Linked DNA regions of Homo sapiens: all the other regions are linked to region 3. The links are contacts of gene promoters, found by promoter capture Hi-C in blood cells and fetal thymus (Javierre and others, 2016). All regions are on one chromosome and are shown on one strand. The core of a region is centred on a gene start or on the middle of the fragment in contact, and the rest is flanking DNA. Distances in the headings are between cores, read along the strand shown. Region 1 overlaps UTP25 (UTP25 small subunit processome component). Region 2 has its middle 3.3 kb from the start of IRF6. Region 3 holds the start of G0S2 (G0/G1 switch 2).

Region 1 (4,559 bases), core at 302-2,801, 170 kb before region 3:
CATGCCAGGTCTATAGACAGGGTATGCTTTGGTTTCTACATCCTTCTTCAGCAATGCCCATTTTGGGAGAAAACCAACTAACCAACCAAGAAGAGTCTGTCCAAACCAAAAACTCTCTGGCTACTTTGTAAGAGTGCGAGAGTGAGGGATGATCTCAACACCACGAAGCCTGCCATGCATTCAGAGCAGGCCATGATTTGTCCTGCACCTCCCCTTCAGAGAGGAGGCTTGAAACCTGGCACCACTTTACCTTTTGTAGAAATGGAAGCGCTCTGTGAAAAGTAGAAACTGTTTCTCTCCTTGAAGGAAGAAGTGTCTGGCCCTGGAGACACCAGACTTCTGCGTGTACTCGCAGATGTGGGTAAAATTCAATTCCTCCTTCTTGAAGTAATTTCGAAGACGCACGAAGTCAAAGTAGGAGGGGATATAGATGAGCGTGTGAGACATGACTGCATCACGATACTGTGGCAAAATCTTGTTCACAAAAAAGTTAAACCTGATTTGGAATGGCAAAGGGCAAAATTAATGTCTAGAGCTAAGCTTATGGTGTCTCTTAACTGTGTGACCCTGAGCAAATTACAATCTCGTGTTAAAAGATTACCTCCCCAGAGGCCAATATGATTTACCTCCTCTCAAAGAGATTATGTAAGGATAAAACTTGATAAGCACACTAAAAAAATAAGTGTCAACACTATTCATTGTAAAAAACAGATGTAATACCATTATATCCCAGAGAATTACTCTAGGAAGTACACACCACACTATTCAGTCAGTCAGTCAGTCACTCAGTCACTCAGTCCAACAGTCAACAAATAATCACTGAACATCTACCATATACTAAGCCTCACTAAGCTTCTTTGGGGTCCCCTAACTAAACACAATGAAGAAAAAGGGGGAAATTATACAATTAGAAAAATAGTTCTTTCCCTGAGGGGCTTACAATTAACTTGCTGACATGAGACACTTTGTAGCATAAAGCTGTATAATTTTAAAATGCCACAGTCAAGAGTGAAAGAGTCCTGATTTATAGTAATAACCCTGCTACTAACTAGTTATGAGACCTAGGCCAAAGTCACTATTTCTCTCTGTGCTTCAGTTTCCTCCTCTGACAAATGACATAATTAAGTTCAATTATCTCAACTGATTTGGTAGTTATCAATAAAAGCAAAATGGAATCCAATTCTAGGTTTGTATGCCCAAGTCAAATCTCTCTATGTGGTCCCCAGGGGCCTGCTGGGAGGAGTGGGTTACCTGGCATCAATCACTGAAGCTAGGTTTTCAGCTTCCATCCTCTGGAAGACATGTGGGAGCTGCACCAGGACATGACTGATAGAGCCTGTCATTGGGACATTCCTCACGGCCACCTGCCAGTAGTCAACAAGAGCGTTAGGTGGACAGCCATCCCCTTCTTGACCAGAAGCTATCGCCTCCTTCTACCTCAGGACCCAAACAATAAACAGTGCTCATGAAGATACTGAGGAAACAAGACGAGAACCCACCTGGCCTTGCATGTTGACACAGTACTTGTTGAACACTGAGTTGATCTGGGCATCCTGAAGGGCCCCAAATAGCAGTGTCTGGCGATAGTACTTGGACCAATTATTGAGGCTCCACATCCGCACTCGAGAAAAGTCTACCCCATGTGAGTCCAGGGGTAGTAGGTTCATGTGATTCATCAAATGCTTTGAGTGGAAATAATATTACCATTAGTGTTGACTGAGAGCATTTACATGTTGGACATTGCTAAACATTTTCCGAGTCTATCAACTCATGTACTATCATCTCCTAAATTATAACAAGAAAACTGAGGCTCACATGGGTGAGTGACTTGCCCATGGTCAGCCAAACATCCCCAATGAGGAGATAAGCTAAAACTGGCCCTCCTGGAATTTTAACAAATGATCAAAATGGTACCTACAGGAATGTTCCTTTAAAATGAACTTCTGAAATGCCACACTGGTCTCTCTATGGGTCCCTAAGTCCCAGACTTGGACAAGAAGGGAAATGCCATGGAAAACAGAGCTGCTGTCCCTCAATTACCTGGTTCTCAAAACATTAGGAATAGTTGCAGTGTCACCCTGTCTTTTCCTCAAATCTAAGAATATAACTCGACTATGCCAAATGCCTTTTCCATTTTAATTATATTTTTACCTTGTAATAGATATTGAAGGGTAATGAGTACAATAAATTTATTTCCTACTTTAGAAGTAAGTTCTACCCTTCATTTGTCCCAAACTTCCTGCAAGCTTCAAGACATGGGGTTGTAGAAGGGGTGAGTTCCCATATGCCTTAGAAAAATAAACCTATAGTTCCTAAATAAGGATTGTTCCAAAGCAGTTTTTCAGTCCTAAAACTGATAACACTGCAGAGTGTGTGGAGAAGGAGAAAAAAATTACAGTACAAATTACATCGGGTAATAAAGACATCCTATATTTCTCTACAAAACAAGATCCCACCTTAAAAAATCTTGAGCAGGGTATTCCCATCTTCACCAAAGACCAAACAAAACAGCATAAGCAAAAACCACATGTGGGATTATGTTAGGTAAAGATGTTCCTGGTGAGGACCCATCCATCCATCAACCTATCCCATCCACCCATCCACCCACCCTAAAGTTAGTAGAAAGAAATTTTAAGGGAAAGAAATCTTTTCTGGAGATTTGAAAATGACTGACAGGAATTTTAATCTGTAGACAGTTTAATTATGGACAATCTCTGGGTAGAAAAGGGGACAAAAGACTTTTTCAAATTAGAAAATGTGGAGTGTGTGTCCTTGCTTCCAAACAAGAGTTCTAATCTGGACTTAAATAATTCTTTAGGACTTAAACCACTGGGTGTCTTATCCCTCTAAATATGAATACTGTCCCACTGAATGTGAATGGCCAGCATTACCAGGACATGCTCCCAGTTCTGCATCAGGTAAATGTCAGCTTGATCAATGATGAGAAGCTCGATAGAAGACAGAAAGTCAAAATCTCTCTTCTTCTCTCCTTCTCCACCAATGATGGTCCTCAAGCCCAGGGGGGAAGCAATGAGGATATCCGAGGAGTAAAACGGGGCATAGAGTCGGATGCTTCTCTGAAGTATTGCCACTCCTACACAAAACAGCCAAGTACACACCAATTCATTAGTCACTACCAAGCCATTACCTTCCACCCTCTCAAAGCAGTCCACCACTTCTATTGCTTCCACATCTCTTTTGTTCCTCTTAGCATGTAACTGTGCTCAACTGCTTTAATTATTAAAACATAAGAACAAGAGAAATCTCTCCCTTGCATCTATAGTCCCTTCTAGCTTCTACCTTCTCTTCCTTTCCGTCACTATCAAACTGCTCCAGAGAATTCTCTCTACTTTCAAATCTCTCCTTCACTTCTCACTCCACTGCAATCCGGCCTCTGATTCTCAGGACTCCAGAGAAATGACTCTTGCTAAGGTCCCCACAGTCCTCAGTCACCAACAGGATGAACACTTTTGAGAGCTTCTTATGAGGAAAGTACAAACGGCACAGAATGTACTAACAGCTGCCTTGCAATGCTCTTTTCCTTGCTAATAGTTTCCATGACTTCAACTCTCACTTTTGCTTCTATCACTGACCTGGCCCTTGTCTGTCCTTCCAGATCCAAATAACTCTTCTGCAAACTGGTGGATTCACTTGTCAGCTCTGCTCTCGTGCTGCATAAAGCTTTGGGTTAACTGACTCACTGATCATGGCTTTAATGTCACCTTCACACAAATGTGTATTTCCAGCCCATATCTTTTTCCTGAGCTCCAGAACAATATACCAACTGCTTCCTGGACAGCTATATATGTTCCAAACAAAACACGAGCTCTTGTCTCCTTATGCCTTACATTCCACCATACCGAAGCCTGTGTGAATCATAGGTCATTCCAAGCTTAGTCACCCTGATGCCTCTGCAACAGGCAGTTTCCTGTCTGAAATGTTTTCCTCCACTCAGCCACCTCCCTTTGAAACTGGCTGAATCCTACACAGGTTTCCACCTAGTACAGATGACACCTCCACCACGACATCTTCCCTAACCACCCTGCCCCCATTTTGGGTAAGGGGGTTTGCTTTAAATGCTCCGAGAACAACCGTTGCACACATATCCTGCACTGCCTGCTCTGTCGTAGGCTGGATTTCCTTAGCAATGGGAACTATAACTTTTATTTCTATATTTATCTGTAGATTCCCAGCTTCTTAACAGTGCCTGGCACACTGTAGATACTCAATAAGTATTTGTGAATGAGCATATGTGACTAATGAACATTTCCCCAAGAACTTTACTCTATAAAAGGTATAACCAACCAAAGTCAATGGGAGCTGAATGAGAGACAAGCAAAAATGTGAAAATTTGGGTGGAAGTCATGTGTGGAGATTATTCAGGGTAGGCATCTATGTAGCACACAGGAGAAAGTCCACCTTTATGTAGAGACAGTCATTTTATTCAGCCTCCCCAGAATGACCCCATCAGCCCCATCACTTCCAACATCCTAGAGAACCCCTTGTAGCATCTATCTGCTACCAGCTATGGGTGTGCTTTCACACTTCTGTTATAAACT
Region 2 (4,392 bases), core at 1,475-3,974, 130 kb before region 3:
GGTGAGTAAACTGAGGCTCAGACTGCCTGGACAGTTAGGAAATGAGAGACGGGAAACTGGAGACAAATTTTGACTCATTCCAAATCACAGTTAGTTTTTCTGATGCAGCTCTGCTGTCATGGAGTGCCAGAGAATAGTCTGACACCCAGGTCTCCTGACTCCCCAAGTGCTCTTTCTTCTTTCTTGAAAACAAGTAATGATAATATTTTCGTTAAATAGTATATAAATCTGCTTTAAGATTTAACCAAATAGGACTGAAAGCTTTATAACCAAATCATCAGCCCCCACACACATCCTATTTTTGTTGAAATAATATTTTGTCTCCTATTATTTTTGTTGAGCTCTCTCATCCATTCTTATCTCGACTCTCATGCTTTTTGTCATCTCTTAACCTTATAGATTAATATGTTTTAAAAAAATTCCTTCACTGTCATTGATCACCTGAGGTGATCTGGGGTGGTGGGGGGTGGGAGAAGAGAAAAGCACATTTGGTTAATCACTCATATTGAACAGGAATCCAGCTTCTTGCCACACTGCTCCCCGAAGATTCTGTACTCCTGGAGTCTTCATTTTCTGAAATCGACACATTGTCCAGTGCTCTGTAGCTCAAACTGAGCCTAACACTCTGCTAGTTCCTGTCTGGCCTGCACCTTGCTGCCCTTAGGGCTTGACTGAAGCCTGGAGAGAATTATCTACACAAAGGAAACAAAGAGCAGATAACAGCAGTGATGGTCGCTCCATCTGCACAGCACTCCACCTGTTTCAGAGAGCGTCCATATCCACTATCTCATTTCAAAGCAGCATAGAGTCACAGGATAGGTTGTTTGGTGCTGACCATGAAGCCAAAATCCGGCCACTGTTTTGTCTCAATGGGGAAGCAGCTTTGAATCAGAACTCTGAACTCTCACATTCATGGTGGTTGTAGTTTCTTCAGCTCTTTTGTCTGCAGAGCCAATGAGAAAGCTCTCCATGCTGGGGAAGATGGGAAGTGGACCCTCAAGCTTTGGAATGAATGGGCAGAAGAATGAAGGGAGGGCCCCAAGGGGGAGCTTACTTCCAAATAATTTCCTGGGCTTTGCTTTTCCTCCTTCGCCTCCCATAGAGATCCAAGTTTGGAATAAAAAAAACTGCTTCTTTGAGAACACTTTCCAGTGCTCAGCTTGCTTCAAGGATAAAAAGGGTCTTCTAACTATGGAAAGACTCAGAAGATGTTCTGAACACTTTGGTGGAGAATTCTTCTAGAGTCCAAAGCCAAAGTCTGTGCCATTGCTTGGATTGGAAAGTGAGATTCTTTTATGCTTCCTGCCATCTTGGTGATTCTAGAATTTGGAGGCCATTATAGAGTGCAACAACCAGAGTGCATTCAGTTTAGGCTGTGGCTTAGGCAATGTGTTAGGATCACCTGTGGCCCTGATGCTTTAAGATACTTGGATGGAGACAGAGATAAGCCAGGGCCAAGAGAAAAGTGAGGGTAGACCTGATGGGCTCCAGAATGCCTTCCAGAAGGAAGGTTGGAGTCTGATTTCCTTTGAAAGCACAGAATTGGATTGTTTAGTGCAATGTCCCTACCTGACTCTTTAGCAACTCCACCAAAGGTGCACAGCTTCTTTGCTATCACCAACTCCAGTAACACTAAACTCTCCACTGTATGGAGCCTTTGGGAGGAGTCCCAGTTGCCACGCTTTCTGCTCTGCCAAGAAGAGAGTGGGATTTGGGTTCATGGTTTTATTGTCACATGTCTGATATTGTAGAGTTTAAAGTCTCTGGGTGGAAAAAGAAACTCTTTCCTACCAAATGAGAGCTGACTGGGAACAGGAGAGGGGAATTCCCTCATTCCCTGTGGCTGTGAATCAGGGCCCCCGTGCTGAAATGTACGTCCCACTACCTGAAACTCAGACTCACTAGTGAGTCAGCAATGCCGCACCTGATTATCAATGGAGGGCAAAATGATGGGAGCATTGCAGGCCCAGGGCATGTTGGGAATGACTGAATCCTGAAGAGGCTCTTTTGAGAATACAGAAGAACTGATTCCTCAAGAGCTTGTGGAAAGACTCACAAGATGTTCTTATTCCCCAGATCAAGCAGATGAGGCGTGTATCAGAATAGAAGACATCAGGGTGGCCTATTGTCAGGGCTTGTTGCCTGCAGAGCCGGGGAGTTCCTCCTGATCTCTACCTTAATTCCACCTGCTTTACCCCCTTTCATTAATTCTTCAGTTGAGTGACATGAGAGTAGGGACTTGGTTTTGTTTATGGCAATATCAACAATATCAACAGTACCTAGATCCATGGGTGATTTTTTTTTTTTTTTTTTTTGAGATGGAGTTTCCCTCTTGTTGCTCAGGCTGGAGTGCAATTGTGCAATCTCGGCTCACCGCAACCTCCACTTCCTGGGTTCAGGCAATTCTCCTGCCTCAGCCTCCCGAGTAGCTGGGATTACAGGCATGCGCCACCAAGCCTGGCTAATTTTGTATTTTTAGTAGAGTTGACCATATTGGTCGGTCCGGTCTCCAGCTCCTGACCTCAGGTGATCTGCCCGCCTCAGCCTCTCAAAGTGCTGGGATTACAGGTGTGAGCGATTGCACCTGGCGATTTTTTTTTTTAAATCGTTAACAGCCAGTGCAGAACAGGTCAGAATAGACTTTGGCTGCGGAGCTGAGCAGGGGTCCAAGTGGATAGAGCCCCGGGTTTGTGTTCTAGTCTTGGTTTGTGGCTAATATGCCATGTGACCTTGAGTAAATCACTTGACCTCGCTGGGCCGCAGTTTTCTCATCTATGAAAAGGGAGAATTTAGACTAGAAGTTGCAATCAGATGCCTACAGGGTCAGGCAATTAAAGTAAATTAGTGAGCTCAATAGAGTGAGTTTGTATTGGCTGTAACGTGTAGACTCCCTCTAAATGGGCAACTGTTGCCAGGTAGAACTGCTGGTAGAGCATCCAGGGCACTTGACTCTTTAAGAGATGCTGAGAATTTTGATGTTTATGTGATACCTCCTGATATTTAAAATACTGTGTGGGTAAAAACTGGCTAAGTCAGTTTTAGTCTTGATCTAGATAGTCCAGAAGAACCCTCCCAGCTTGAGTTTTCTGATTCCAAAATATATGTCTTCTAAAGAAGGTCCTTAAGACATCCCCTTAGTCATGGGAATTTCAGCTGGTGCAAAAGTGAGTGCCTGTGTGTGGGCTCATACTTGTATGCCACTGGGGTTTTGACTCCCCTCAAATGACACTCTCCCAATGGCCTTACCCCTCATCCCTCTCATACACCTGCAGTGGAGCTTGTTTGGTCCCCAGAGCCCAGCCCTGGGCCAGATGGAAGATGCTGTTTGTCTAGTGAGCTCATCAGCAGTAAACAGCTAGCTGTGCTGATGAGCTTGCCCTTCCCCCAGTGAAGGGAAGAGTGGCCACAGGGCAGTGGTTGAGACAGAGGCTGGCTGAGTCAGGCCTTGGGGCCTTGCTGCCTTCCCAGGCCTTTGCTGGCTACATTCCAAAGCTAAATTGGGACTTGGAATCATGCCTACATTATTATCAATCTGGGGCTCTTCAACACACTTGTATGAGTATGCTAGGGCTACCATAACAATGTACCTCAGAGTGGGTGGCTTGAACAACAGAAATTTTTTGTTTCATAGTTCTGGAGTTTAAAAGTCTAAAATCAAGGGTCTGAGGGATGTGAAAAAAAAAAAAAAAAAAAGAGCTCTATTCCAGGTATCTCTCCTTGGGTTGCAGCTAGCTGTCTTCTCTTTATGTCTCTTCATATCACCTTCCCTCTGTGGGTATCTGCCTCTGTGTCCAAATCTCCTCCTTTTATAAGGACACCATTCATATTGGATTCAGGCTCACCCTAATAACCACGTTTTAACTTGATTACCTCCATAAGGATCCTGTCTCCCAATAAGGTCATATTCTGACATCTGGCTGTGGTTGCAGTGGGGGTGGTCAGGACTTCAAAATACAAATACAAATTTTTTTGTATGTGGGTGACAGTTCAACTCATTGTACCACTCCTCCACAGTTTCTCACTCATTACTTTAAACACCAAAACCTAAGTGACCTGCGCATGCCCCATTTCACCTACGACAGCTCAGTGGTTGAGGGTGGGGGATTTTTAAAAGTCTCATTTACTGTTGCACAGCCTCCTGCAAACCGGTCCTCTAGATAGATGAGGAAGGTGAGGGCAATCTCATCAAGCACCTGTTAGGGTACATGCAGGACTTGAATTTCAGGTAATAACAAGGAATGCCTTCTTGTTCTCTGACGCACTGTCTATATGGTATTTTTAATCTTTATGCCAATAATAATTGCAAGTACATATAAAGCACTTGATAAGTGCTAAATATTGTTGCAAGCAGTTTACATGTAGTTATTGAATTCCCACAATACCCCTGAGGTA
Region 3 (4,674 bases), core at 1,988-4,487:
CCTTTACTTCAAGAAGATTATACTGTAAGAGACATGACCAAGCCCACAGAACAACTGGAAGAAAAAAAGCCCATTACTGAGTGATGTGGTATGAGATTCAGGCTGTACGGCCTATAAGAACTCAGAGAATTGAGAAGACCAGTGAGAACAGAGATTTCAATAGCTCGGATTTGATTGGGTTGGGTAATTTGAATATAAATAGGCATGGGGAATTTCCTTCTACACAAAAACATATAGGCATACTTATATATTTAGGGAACTTTATTTTTTTATGTATAGGCAACCTTTCAAAACATAGGCGTTACCCTCTAAATAAAAAATCATGTAATCCCAGTACTTTGGGAGGCTGAGGCAGGCGGATCATGAGGTCAGGAGATTGAGACCATCCTGGCCAACATGGTGAAACCCCATCTCTACCAAAATACAAAAAATTAGCTGGGCATGGTGGTACACGCCTGTAGTCCCAGCTACTCGGGAGGCTGAGGCAGTGGAATCGCTTGAACCCAGGAGGCAGAGGTTGCAGTGAGCCAAGATTGTGCCACTGCACTCCAGCCTGGTGACAGAGCAAGACTCCATCTCAAAAATCAGAGCACACAATTTTACATGTATTTTGACAATGGGCAAAATACCTGTATTTGAAATCATACCTTCCTTGGAGAATTTGAGGTATGTGGTTTCAGAAGATGTGGAGGTAGTGGGTGGGAGGACATTCGGGTTGGAAATTCGGGTTGGAAGAGTAATGTAAATGAAGGTGCAGAAAACCAGAAGGAAACAGGCAAGGACCAGGGTTCATGCTAGGCACCCTGACAAATCAGGCAAGACGGCCAGCTGTGATGGAAGCACATCACAGAGGCACTGAAACCTGGCATAAGAGTTTTAGTCTCAGATGTTTTTGAGTTCAGGAGCAGCAGAATGAAAGATATTAAAGGAAGACAGTCTGACAAGGGATTGTTTAGGGTGAATGTGCTAGAAGGTGCAGGGGGTGGCTTGAGCGGTTGAGAGCCAGACAAGGTGGTAACTGAATGGGTAAAGGAGTAATTAATAAAAGAGGCATTTTGGAAGACCAGCAGGAAGGATAAAATTGAGTCAGTTCCTAGGAAGTTTCTTGGACATTGAAAGTGAGGCTCTGCCTTGGTATAGGGCTGAATTTCCCATTTTGGAAACTGGGAGAGCCATGGTGCCACTGACATTCTTTTCCTTTAAAACTCCAAATATGTTTCTTTTCCTTGATTAATCTTACCACATTCTGATTGCTTTTTTCCTTTGGGAGTGATAAGAATAGATTTCAGAAAGAGATGGCTTTTGATCAGGGCCAGGAACACTTGGTAGGAATTGAGTTGGCAGAAATGAAATGGAGATGTGTGTAGGGCATTGGACGAAGGAGAGAGTCTGAGCAGAGGCAATGGTGTGAGCCAGTGATATGTTTGGCAAAAATGCATAGCTGTTGATGAAAGGAGTAAAGTGTCAGTACCTGATTAGGACAGGTGACATGAAAAATGTGAGGAGACTAGCATCAAGGCCATGCCTCTGGCTCCTGGCTACTTCTTTAAAGTTTAAAATTTGTTTTGCTGAGCCCTATAGAGTCACTGAATTAGCTATTACTACAGATGAAGCTCTGTACACTGGAGGAGGAGGACTCAGATATGTAACAACCGGTTTTTTTCTCTTTCTAGCCCAGAGTTTCTTACTATGATCTGGATTCGTGGGGAGGAAGGCTGGGTAGAGCTAGACTCATCATCTGCTTTGGTGTTCTTGGGAGCTTATCTCTTTTCCTGCCAGGTAGATAGTTTTTCCTTTCTTTCCTTCCCTTCACCTCCAGACCTCCCTCCTTCATTTTCTTTCCTTCTCTCTGTCTGTCTGTCTAAAATATAGTTGGGAAGAAAAAGGTATCAGCCATGGGAACCTCTGGTGCACAGGTGTAAGGAACAAAGAGCTTTTCTGCCTTAGAATTAATCAGTTATCTCCTACTCACTGTAGCTCAGAAGTTGATCTACCTTTTGATGTTAAAATGCTAAATCTCACGGAAGTTATAAAATTTTCTCTCTTCCCACCCCTAACAAGAAGGAAAAACAAGTCCTCAACAGACTTATATGCATGTAGTAACTTATTACACAGTTCCTAGGTGTGAAGCAAGTGTCTGACCCTCAGGAAGCTGCTCCCTCTGCAGTGCTCAGGTAAGAACCCATCACCATCGCCCACCTGCTCACCCTCCCTGCTTCCCACCCCAGGACACCACACCTCTCAGGAATTACATGAGATATGGTATAAAAAGTTTTTTTATTTCAAAATGCAAAATGGTGGTCATTGTAATAATTAATAATAATAACATAAAAAGCATTTATCCTTCCTCCCTAGTGCAAAATGGTAGACGCATTTAGATAATTCACACAGTGTTGGAAATGTCATGACAATGCAGTGCTGCACAGCAGCAAAACTCAATCCCAAACTCCTTTGGTGGATGCTTGTGGTAGGTCAGTTCTAGATGTCAGCGGTTTCTCTGAAGTTAAGTCCAAATAAAAAACAGCACGTGCTCCTGCACTCTCCCAGCGGAGTCAGGCTCCTGTGCGCGCGCCCCCTCTGTCTCTCCATTCCTCTCTCGGTCTGTCTCTGTCTACTGCGTCTCCCTCCCACTCCGCTGGTCTCCCACAGTTCCTAGGAGGCGTGCTGCCGGTTGGACAGGGCCCGGCCGCCGAGGACCGTGTCCTGCTGCTTGCCTTTCTCCTGCAGGGCTTGCTTCTGGAGAGCCTGTCGCTCCAGGGCGGCCTGCAGCTCCGCCACGGCTGCCTCCTGGTCCCGCAGACGTCTGGCGGCCGTGAAGGGGCTGCACACAGTCTCCATCAGGCCGAGCACCACGCCGAAGAGGGCCAGCACGCTGCCCAGCACGTACAGCTTCACCATCTTCCCCTTGCGCTTCTGGGCCATCATCTCCTTGGCCAGGGGGATCAGCTCCTGGACCGTTTCCATCTCGGCTCTGGGCTCTCGGAGGCGGGAATGACCTGCAGGAGGAGCAGCAGGAGAGGGGCTTCAGCCACCAAAGAACGGCTCCCACCACCCCGCACCCAGCTAATCTTGGGGAGGGCTCATAGAAAGGCGGACTACCTTAGTGGCACGGCGCGAGCAGGAGGCAGCGCGAGCTGCAGTTGGCAGCGGTCAGCGCGTCCGTTGGTCCGACCGACCTCAGCGTTCTCCTCCTCTCGGCAGCTGCAGCTCTCCCAGTTGGAGACTCCGCCGCTGGCACCGCTTTAGCGTCCGGGGGCCGCTTATATCTTTTCTCTGAGACACGCCTCCTGGGCTCTCCGGCCCAGGCCAGCGCGGTCAGAGCCAGGGGAACTCGGAGGGGGAGGAAGAAGAGGAGGGGAAAAGGAGGGGGTGGAACCCGGCTGGGACCTGGCAGGAGGTGGCCACGCGCTGAGCACGCTCCGACTGTGTGAGCTAGGGGGCCCGGCGCGGGTGCCATCGCAGCGGGGCGCGTGGGAAGGCCAGTGTGCACGCGAAGGTCCCACTCCAGGCGAGCGCAGGGGAGGACCCGGAGCCCAGGGAGGTGTCCGCGGACATCTCTGACATGGCGGCAACCTTCTTACTGGTGTCAGCGGGTGCACAGCTTCCCTTGTCCAGGACAGCCTGACATTATAAATAATGAGGGAATTTGGGGGTTCCATCTAAAGAAGAAAGCTTTCATTTTTATTCGGAAGGGTTGTCACCTTCCCACGTGTGTGGCAATGGATCAGAGAGGAGAAGGCAAGGGGGAAGGATCTGGGTAACAGGACAGAACAGGTTACGCTTGGATAAAGCAATATGTGCTAATATTGTTTCTTTCCTGCCTGGTTGGTTTTATTTAGAGGTACATGCATGTATAACTAGAGTCAGTTGATAGAAAACTATTCATTGATGGTGCTTTTATGCACAGAGGTGTGTGTGTGTGTGTGTGTGTGTGTGTGAGAGAGAGAGAGAGAGAGAGAGAGAGAGAGAAAGAGAGAGAGATTAGTCTCTTTGCCTGCGAGCTGTTTCCTTATGTACTTCCGTGTATCAGGGAAGAGCCTTCAAATTCAAATTGTTCTCACTTCCACTTGAGAAGTGGAGTTGGGAGCTTGGGGGTAGGGGGTCAAGTATGGAAGGGGCTGTTGGTAGAAGTTCATCTGCCATTTTAGAATGGAAGTATTTCATGCTCTCCTCAATAATTCTCTGCCACCCTCCTGGGTTTGGGGGTACAACTTCACTGCTCCAGCTCAACTTCAGCTTTGAAGCAGTTTGTGGGCAGAAGGGCGTGTAGTAGACAGCTTAGGTAAGAATCCAGAGTGTGAGTACTCTTGGACGTGTGAAGATGTAGGATTGATTTTGACCAGGGTTAGCTGTAATCACCTGGGGCTGAGGGAGCGTTCTAGTTTGGCTTTGGTTATGGATATGCTAGAGTTAGCAAACTTGGGGAAAAAGAGAGGCAAATTGGCCAAAGGGTTAGCAAACTTGGGGAAAAGGAGAGGCAAATTGGCCAAAGGCCTTTAAGCAGAGAAAGGGAGGGGGCAGGGGAAAGAAGGGGAAATCAAACTGGCCAGAAAATTGCAAAGGTCAGTGATGCAATCTTGCAACAGCCTTTGCAGTCGGTCGGACTGAGCCCTGAAGGGCGGGTCGGGGGAAAAGGCTGTCTCAGGGATCAAATATTTTAGTTTTTGAATTGTT

The links. The method cuts DNA at HindIII sites, captures the fragments that hold promoters and counts their contacts. A CHiCAGO score of 5 or more calls a contact.
Region 1: a contact is called between a fragment that was not itself captured here and the fragment with the promoter of G0S2 in region 3, in 1 of 17 cell types (neutrophils). The highest score is 8.0, in neutrophils.
Region 2: a contact is called between a fragment that was not itself captured here and the fragment with the promoter of G0S2 in region 3, in 2 of 17 cell types (neutrophils and monocytes). The highest score is 12.7, in neutrophils.

The regions. Positions count from the first base shown.
Region 1 is chr1:209,839,388-209,843,946 of GRCh38, reverse strand. It overlaps UTP25 (UTP25 small subunit processome component), which reads right to left. Exons shown (of 12, transcript NM_014388.7): 8 at 2,892-3,094; 9 at 1,500-1,682; 10 at 1,252-1,364; 11 at 251-496. Among named protein-coding and RNA genes, the nearest start is that of UTP25, 14 kb to the right of the region's middle. RefSeq lists an enhancer at 3,849-4,143. The HindIII fragment of the contact is 1,394 bases long and covers 855-2,248 here.
Region 2 is chr1:209,807,278-209,811,669 of GRCh38, reverse strand. No RefSeq gene overlaps it. Among named protein-coding and RNA genes, the nearest start is that of IRF6, 3.3 kb to the right of the region's middle. The HindIII fragment of the contact is 3,441 bases long and covers 1,004-4,392 here.
Region 3 is chr1:209,673,975-209,678,648 of GRCh38, reverse strand. It overlaps G0S2 (G0/G1 switch 2), which reads right to left and starts at 3,237. Exons shown (of 2, transcript NM_015714.4): 1 at 3,100-3,237; 2 at 2,259-2,996. The coding sequence starts at 2,964. The coding sequence ends at 2,653. All of the region lies in intron 1 of HSD11B1-AS1 (HSD11B1 antisense RNA 1), which reads left to right. RefSeq lists an enhancer at 2,277-3,125. The HindIII fragment of the contact is 4,554 bases long and covers 1-3,674 here.